Regions from separate parts of the Homo sapiens genome. Here region 1 is linked to region 2. Evidence: promoter capture Hi-C in 16 types of primary human blood cells and fetal thymus (Javierre and others, 2016). All regions are on one chromosome and are shown on one strand. The core of a region is centred on a gene start or on the middle of the fragment in contact, and the rest is flanking DNA. Distances in the headings are between cores, read along the strand shown. Region 1 overlaps SRCAP (Snf2 related CREBBP activator protein). Region 2 holds the start of ATP2A1 (ATPase sarcoplasmic/endoplasmic reticulum Ca2+ transporting 1).

The links. The method cuts DNA at HindIII sites, captures the fragments that hold promoters and counts their contacts. A CHiCAGO score of 5 or more calls a contact.
Region 1: a contact is called between a fragment that was not itself captured here and the fragment with the promoter of ATP2A1 in region 2, in 1 of 17 cell types (total B cells). The highest score is 5.0, in total B cells.

What each region holds. Positions count from the first base shown.
Region 1 is chr16:30,704,644-30,708,950 of GRCh38, forward strand. SRCAP (Snf2 related CREBBP activator protein) reads left to right here. Exons shown (of 34, transcript NM_006662.3): 5 at 2,540-2,725; 6 at 2,929-3,069. Among named protein-coding and RNA genes, the nearest start is that of SNORA30, 3.7 kb to the right of the region's middle. The HindIII fragment of the contact is 157 bases long and covers 1,904-2,060 here.
Region 2 is chr16:28,875,981-28,880,060 of GRCh38, forward strand. ATP2A1 (ATPase sarcoplasmic/endoplasmic reticulum Ca2+ transporting 1) reads left to right here and starts at 2,508. Exons shown (of 23, transcript NM_004320.6): 1 at 2,508-2,809; 2 at 3,119-3,136; 3 at 3,521-3,603. The coding sequence starts at 2,692. It overlaps ATP2A1-AS1 (ATP2A1 antisense RNA 1), which reads right to left and starts at 3,941. Exons shown (of 2, transcript NR_046290.1): 1 at 3,562-3,941; 2 at 2,977-3,124. RefSeq lists enhancers at 1,479-1,548, 1,559-1,648, 2,894-3,667 and silencers at 3,738-3,787, 3,808-4,080. The HindIII fragment of the contact is 4,054 bases long and covers 1-3,803 here.

The DNA.
Region 1 (4,307 bases), core at 732-3,231, 1.8 Mb after region 2:
ACTGGGCAATGTGGTAAAACCCCATCTCTGTAAAAAGTACAAAAAATTAGCTGGGTATAGTCGCACATGCCTGTAGCAGTCGCAGCCACCCAGGAGCCTGAGTTGAGAGGATCACCTGAGCCCAGGAGGTCAGGGCTGCAGTGAGCCACGATTATGCCACTGCACTCCAGCCTGAGCAACCGAGTAAGATCCTGTCTCAAAAAAAAAGGAGAAAATAGACACAAAAGCACTTTGTAAACTGTGATGCTCTTAAGATTTACTGGTTTCTATTTATTTCTATCGTGCAGTCTGTATTACATTTATCCAGTGGTAAGTGTGGTCTCTGGGCCAGCAGCATCAGCATCACCTGGGAACTTAGTAGAAACACAAATTCTTTGCCGGGCGTGGTGGCTCATGCCTGTAATCCCAGCACTTTGGGAGGCCGAGGCGGGTGGATCACCTGAGGTCAGGAGTTCGAGACCAGCCTGGCCAACGTGGCAAAATCCCATCTCTGCTAAAAATACAAAAATTAGCCTGGCGTGGTGGCGCAGGCCTGTAGTCCTAGCTACTCAGGAAGCTGAGGCAGGGAAATTGCTTGAACTGGGAACCGGAGGTTGCAGTGACCTGAGATGATGCCACTGCACACCAGCCTGGGTAACAGTGAGACTCTGTCTCAAAAAAAAATGCAAATTCTTGGTACCTCTCACCCACCGACCCATTTGAAACTATGAGGGTAGGGCCCAGCAATGTTTTTATTTTTTATTTTTATTTTTATTTTATTTATTTATTTTGTTGAGACGGAGTCTCGCTCTGTCGCCCAGGCTGGAGTGCAGTGGCAGAATTTTGGCTCACTGCAAGCTCCGCCTCCCGGGTTCACAGCCATTCTCTGGCCTCAGCCTCCTGAGTAGCTAGGACTACAGGCGCCCGCCATCACACCCGGCTAAATTTTTTGTATTTTTAGTAGAGATGGGGTTTCACCATGTTGGCGGGATGGTCTTGATCTCTTGACCTTGTGATCTGCCAGCCTCGGCCTCTGAAAGTGCTGGGATTACAGGCATGAGCCACTGCGCCCGGCCACAATTGGGTTTTTTTTTTTTTCCTTGAGACGGAGTCTCAGTCTTTCGCTGAGGCTGGAGTGCAGTGGCATGATCTCGGCTCACTGCAAGCTCCGCCTCCTGGGTTCACGCCATTCTCCTGCCTCAGCCTCCCGAGTAGCTGGGACTAAGCGCTCGCCACTATGCCTGGCTAATTTTTTGTGTTTTTAGTAGACACGGGGTTTCACCGTTTTAGCCAAGATGGTCTCGATCTCCTGACCTTGTGATCCACCCGCCTTGGCCTCCCAAAGTGCTGGGATTACAGGTGTGAGCACAACCTGTTTCTAAAAGTCCTCCAGATGATTCCGGTGCCTCCTCAAGTTTGAGAGCAGCTGGTCTAATATCCACGTCTTTCTTGATGTTTCCTTCACTGTCAGGCCATTTAGTCCTGTCTGGTCTCTGGCTGTCATTTTCTCTGATTTAGTTTTTATCAGGAGAGGACAGAAATAACAAAGACAGAGGCTGGGTGCGGTGGTTTTCGCCTATAATCTGAGCATTTTGGGAATCCCAGGCAGGCGGATTGCTTAAACCCAGGAGTTCCAGACCAGCCTTGACATTGTGAAACCTCGCCCCTACGAAAAATACAAAAAAATTAGCTGGGCATGGTTGCATGTGCCTATAGTCAGTCTCAGCTACCTGGGAGGCTGAGTTGGGAGGCTGAGTTGGGAAGATAACCTGAGCCTAGGCAGCAGAGTGAGACCCAGAAAAATCTCACTCAGATTTCTGAGTGAGATTCAGAAAAAGAAATAAGGCAGTTGTCCTGAATTTTTTGAGTCGTCTCTGTCAAAAAAATTTTAAATGCTTTTTAAATAAAAGACAATCAGTGTAGAAGCTTTAGTAAAAATGACCACTCTTTTTTACACCTAATCAGTGTTAAACATTTCACGTATAACGTTTCAGTATTTTTTACATAAACATATGCATTTTTACAAAAGTAGTATTTTTAAAAACAACAGTGTGTCAGTTGGGCATTATAGCATATTTCTAAGCTTAATGCATCATGAAAATACTCTGAGTAAGTAGAATTCTACAATGATGATGACCCCTTGTATCTAGAATCAAGAGGGAAGTATGTGTTCCCTACTCCTCTGGGAAGCTCCTCTTGGGATATGATTTCCCAAGTCTCTCCTATGTCTATGGGGTGTGGAGATTGTGTTAAATAATGGAAAGAGCATGAAATTTGCTGTCTGGAGTCCTCAGACCTATTTTTGATTCACATTTTCTATTACTTTCTAGCTGTGTGATCTTGGGCAAATCACTTAATCTCCCTGATCTTTTTTCCTTCTTCATCTCCCTGATCTTTTTTCCCTTCTCTGAAGAGAGTATGATACCTGCCTGTAAGTTTGGTATGTGGACTAAACATAAGCATAACACACTCAGCCCACTTAGTGCTCAGGAATTCAGCCGTGGCAGTGAGATGGAGTGTGTGTTTAGAACTGTTGATTGATCTGGCTCTCCCTGATTAGGAGGCCGAGATCGAGACTCGGATTGCTGAGCTGCGGAAGGAGGGTTTCTGGTCACTGAAGAGGCTGCCTAAGGTGCCAGAGCCCCCTCGCCCCAAAGGTCACTGGGACTATTTGTGCGAAGAGATGCAGTGGCTCTCTGCTGACTTTGCTCAGGAGCGCCGTTGGAAACGGGGTGTGGCCCGGAAGGTAGGTCTTCCGCTGGGACTTCCTTCCTTTTCCTTTTCAGGTCTGTTCCTTCCCGGTTTGTTGGAAGGGGACCAGACAGAATGGTGTAGGCATTAAGAGCAAACTCTTGATTTTCCAGATTTCTTGGCCTTGATTATTTTCTTTGCCTTTGGGTGGGGAAGTCTGGCTTTGAGTGTTTTCACCCTGGGTCTTCATTCCCACAGGTGGTGCGCATGGTGATCCGGCACCACGAGGAGCAGCGGCAGAAAGAGGAACGGGCCCGGAGGGAGGAGCAGGCCAAGCTGCGTCGAATTGCTTCCACCATGGCCAAGGATGTCAGGCAGTTCTGGAGCAATGTGGAGAAGGTAGACAGTGGGGATCAGGAAAGGAAAATGGCCTTGGATTAGATTGGTAGATGGCGTGGTAGTAGGAATGATCAAAACTTCTTGAGGGAGTAAATATAATTTCAGGCAACTCTAATGACGTTTATGTTGTATGGATAAAAAAGTATAGTGGCAAAATATGGGTCCTGCCTTTGGGGATTGTTAATAGTTCTCCTTGACACCTCTAGGCCATCTGTCCCTTGCAGGGCATTTAGCATGTGTTTACTGAAATGTATTTGTGCCACTTAGCACATGCTTAAATTCCGTCAAAGTTCCCACTGCCTGTATAGTAAGTTGTAATTATTTCTTAAGTACTACCCAGTTTCCGTCTGTATTTTCGGTCTTGCCTCCTGCCATGTTCATTCCTTCTCCCTTCCACTCCACACCCACCTTTCTTTTGTATATCTCTGTCCATTTACACATAGACTTTATGCTGCTGGGAATGCTTTTTTCCTCATGTGTACTTAGGGAACAGCCACCTATTTTTTAATTGTCTTGGACAGAGTCTTGCTGTGTCTCCTAGGCTGGAGTGCAGTGGTACGATCACAGCTCACTGCATCCTCAACCTCCTGGGCTCACGCGATCTTCCTGCCTCGATCTCCCAAGTATCTGGGACTACAGGCGCGTGCTACCACATCTTGCTAATTAAAAAAATTCTTTTTAATTTCTTTTTTTTTAATTTTTTTGTGAAACAGAGTCTCACCCCGTCACCTAGGGCAGTGGCGCAATCTTGGCTCACTGCAACCTCTGCCTCCCAGGCTCAAGTGATTCTCCTGCCTCAGGCTCTGGAGTAGCTGGGATTACAGGCATGTGCCACTATGTCTGGCTAATTTTTGTATTTTTAGTAGAGACAGGGTTTTGCTGTGTTGGCCAGGCTGGTCTTGAACTCCTGACCTCAGGTTATCCACTCGCCCCAGCCTCTCAAAGTGCTGGGATTATAGACGTGAGCCACCGCACCTGGCCTAAAAATATTTTTTTGTGGAGACAAGGTCTCGCTGTTACATACCAAGCTGATCTTGAATTCCTAGGCTCAAGCGATCCTCTCACTTTGGCCTCCCAAAGTGTGAGCCACTATGCCTGGCTTCACCTACCTGTTTTTTTGTTTTTGAGACGGAGTCTCGCTTTGTTCCCAGGCTGGAGTGCAGTGGTGCAATCTGGGCTTACTGCAACCTCTGCCTCCCAGGTTCAAGCGATTCTCCTGCCTCTGCCTCCGGAGTAGC
Region 2 (4,080 bases), core at 1,258-3,757:
AAGCCTTTCTTTACAGATGGTTAAACCGAAGTTCTGCACTCATCAGGGACTGGCCAGGGTGTCTCTGTGTCCCATGCTTTTAGCTCCAGCCCTCAGGTGTGACAGGAGGATCACTTTCCATCCCTGGGCGTGGAGACCCCTGTGGGAAGGGATCCCCGAGGGCGCCTCTGGCTCAGCCTCCCTCCATGGCAGTTCACACCCACAGCCTTCCCTAGAGCAGCCCTTCTGCAGCTCCTGGCGGGTGGCTTTCCCTCCCTGGCTTGTTTCCCCCTCTGGGAAGCCGGGGGAGGTAGAAATGAATAACCTTAAAGGCCTGTTGGCAGGAATGTGCTGCCAAGCCTGCCCCCTGCCCTCTGTCTCAGGCTCTCGACTCCCTCGAAGCTGCCCATCTCTCCGTCTGCCCCTCTCCATGTTTGGGCATTCCCACTGCTGTAAGACAGTAGCCCCTGTCACTCCTCCAGGTGCCGGTGGGGAGACGCCGGCCAGCGCCAAAAGCCTTGGCGGGTGTGAGCCTGAGTCCAGCGGAGACGGTGGGTGCTGGGCCGGGTGGAGGTGCCGGGGGCTGTGTCTCTTGGAAGAGAGGCTGCTAATGCTCTCCTGCACCCCCAATTCAGCCCACTGTCCCCCACTCCCCTCAGGTCACAGCAGGATTCTGCTTCAGGGGAGGGGTTTGTTGGAACTGTGAAAAGGAGGCAGGAAGGAGCACCTTGTCCTCAACTCACCCAGGAGGCCGCGCCTCACCCAAGTCCAGGCAGAAGGGATGCATCTGGGAGGCTGAACCCTCAAGTTCCATCCACCCCTGCTGCCATCCCCCTCCCCAAAAGTGGGGGCCTCCCTTTTCTTTGCTCTGCTGTCTCCTATTCTGTCCTCTGCTTCGGAGTTTGAGCCCCAGAATGGAAAGCAGCCTTAAGAAGCCACACTTAGGAAGTCCACATGCCTCTGCTCATTTCAGGAAACAGGCCTAGACAGAGGACGGACTTGAGCCCAGGGCACCAGGCCCCTTCCCCTCACTGACCTTTCACCCTGACTCTCATCCAGCCTTTCTGCCTGCCTGTCCTCCCCTTCCTGCACCCCTGGTACCCTCCCTCGGCTCCTCCAGCAGCTGCCCTGGTGGTAACCAAGAGACGCCCCCATCCTGGAGCAGGGGTGGGGAGGGGCAGCTCAGAGCAGCTGCTTCTCTGAGGAAGCTGACACCAAGGCCAGCATTCAGCAACAACTTGTGGCTTTGCACCCAGCGCCGGGGTCCCCGCCCACCTGGCTCCCTGCTGTCCCTCTTCCCCACTGCTGCTCGGACTTCCCTCTGACCCTGGTGGCTCTGTGTCTCTGCTCCCTTTCCCCCTAGGTCTAGACATCTGTCCTTATTTCCCCCAGACCTGTCCCCAGAAGTCCACCCTTCCCCATTCCTTTGGTCTGGAGCCCCTGCTTGGTCCAGCTTCCCCAGGCCCCGACACCTTTCTGTGGGGTCTGCCTAGCTCCTGCACGCACACAGCATGGGCCTGATCCTGTTCCCCTCGTGGACAGATGCAGCAGGGCAGAGTGCAGCGCAGACCACAGGCCTCTGGGGCTGGCCACAGAAACCCCGTTGGTTAGAGCACAGTGTGGGATGAGGTGACCCTCAGTGCACGACTTGGGGTGACCCCTGCCCCCATCCTGAGACAGTTACCCCTCCCCCTCTGCCATCAGCACATTCTGTAGCCTCTTGGGTTACTTGGCTGCCTTGGTGTCCCATTTTCTTGGGGGTGGGGTGGGGATTCCCTATCCAGGATGGGGGGGCCCTCAGGGCTCTGTTCCCAGAGGCTGAGTTAGAGCGATGGGGAAGGGGGGGGGCAGTTTTGGGGAGAGACAGGCAGTGCTGGCTTTGCTCACCAGGGCCTGGACACTAAATCCCTTGTTGATGGCTGTGGCAACCCCTCCCTAGGGTAGGGTTACCATCTTCGGCCCTGTCCCCTTGACTCTCTCCCCTCACTTCCCCTTGTCCCTCTAGGAGCCACTCACTTCCTCTAGCCCCCAAAAGATGTTCTCCCTTCATCAGTCCCCCAAAGGCTTGGGGTATCTCTGCCACTGCTTCAGCAAATGGGGTGAGGAGGAAGGAGACTGCGGCAATGGAAACAGGCTCCGGGCAGATGAGGCAGGAAGGGGGGTGTGAGGAAAGGGACAGGTGAGGCCGGGGATGGAAGAGGGCTCCGGGAAGAACTGGGGGGATGAGTTTGGAATGGGAAATTCAATGCAGCTGGGGAAGTCGAGGCAATGGGGGGGCAGGGTCAGTAGCAGATGACAGAAAGTGAAGTCTCTCCCTACCCCACTTCCCTGGGGCTGGGGCTACCTTTGCGTCCCTCATGAGTGACATCTCAGGCTGCAGCCCCACTGTTCCCCCTCTGTCAGCAGAAATATCTCTCTTTTCTGACCACCTCCTGCTGGAGTCTCAGCCAGCCAATCCCTGATCTGGTGGAGGGGGGAGCCCGGCCTCCCCCTGCTCCCTCATAAGGACCAGCTGGGGGCCGGGGGGTGGCCGGCTGCTCAAGTGGGACGGGGGTCAGAGCTTTGTGGAGGGAAGAAAAACCTGGAGGGGGCAGGAGAGTAAAAAGAAGAAACCCAGGCAGACAGGCAGTTGGACACACTGAGGAAGACCCCCCACGAGTGGGAACCCCCTGGAAGGAACACACCGGCCCCGGCCCCCAGGAAGGGAGCACAATGGAGGCCGCTCATGCTAAAACCACGGAGGAATGTTTGGCCTATTTTGGGGTGAGTGAGACCACGGGCCTCACCCCGGACCAAGTTAAGCGGAATCTGGAGAAATACGGCCTCAATGGTAAGTGTCCCTTGGAAGAGCGGCTGGTAATTAATGCCCTCCTGCACCCCCAAAACACACGCACACGCATGCACGCGTTTCTCCCTTCAGGGTTTCTTAAGGAAGAGCTGGGCCGTTGTCCAATGCTCGCAGGGGGAAGAAGATACTGAGAAAACAGAGTCCCGAGATCCAGAGTTTTGGGAGGTTTTAATGGGATGAACTTGATGAACCTCAAGGTGGCCTGATTCTCTTAGCCACAAAGTCTTGGGTGTGGGGGGCATGAGGCTGAACCCCAAATGAATCTGTCCTTTTCTTCTTTTTCCTGGGTAGAGCTCCCTGCTGAGGAAGGTAAGTTACTGGAATCCCTGAACTCTCATAAATGACCACCCCCCACCCCGCCCTGTCCCACTCCCTCCTCCCTGCCTCTTTAGATTCTTTGAGCAAATATCCCTTCCCAAAAGGCAAATCTCCCTCCCTAAAGGTTAGAGTCCTGTCCGGGGCAGAAGTCTCCCAGGCGCTTTCTCCTTGAAGCAGCCAACCCTTGAACTGCCCCCCACTTTGCCGAGTCTGTTTCTGGACTCCAGGCGAGCTTCTTAGCCCTTCTCTGGGCACCAAGCTGTCTGCCCACCACCCTAGAGCCTCCCCACTGCAGGCCGGAGTCCAGGGCGCTCCATCCCAGACCTTCACCCACTAGACCTTAACCCGGGGCCCTCCCCTTGCCTCCTCCCCCAGGGAAGACCCTGTGGGAGCTGGTGATAGAGCAGTTTGAAGACCTCCTGGTGCGGATTCTCCTCCTGGCCGCATGCATTTCCTTCGTAAGTGTGGGAGGGTCTCTGGGGGCTGGCTGGGGGTGTGAGGCTGGGATCGGGCGAATGCGGGGCTCGCAGTCACTGGATCCTCCCGTCCGAGTCCCGAGCATCCCATTGTACAGACGGGGCGGGCTGGCGCGCAGCAGCGGGTGTGATTCGCGTCCTCCTCTCTCCTCCCCTGCACCCCAGAGGCAGGTTTTATTTTAAGCTTTAAGGGTGTTCTCAGCCAAAACACCGAAGCTAAGCCACCCTCGCGGCTTCAAGAGCTTGGAGAGCTCGGGTTACCCACCCGAACTCCGGGCTCCGGGTCCCGCCGCGATGCCGGCTGCGGCGCGGGGGGCCACTGCCACTCCCGGCATGCGCCGGGCGGACGGCCGCTCCACCAATCCCCGCGCCCGTCGGCGCCCCTGCCCCGCCCTCCCCAGCCTCCTGACGCTGATTGGTCGAGGGGAGGACTCGCTCCTAGTGGCGGGAAAGCGCGGC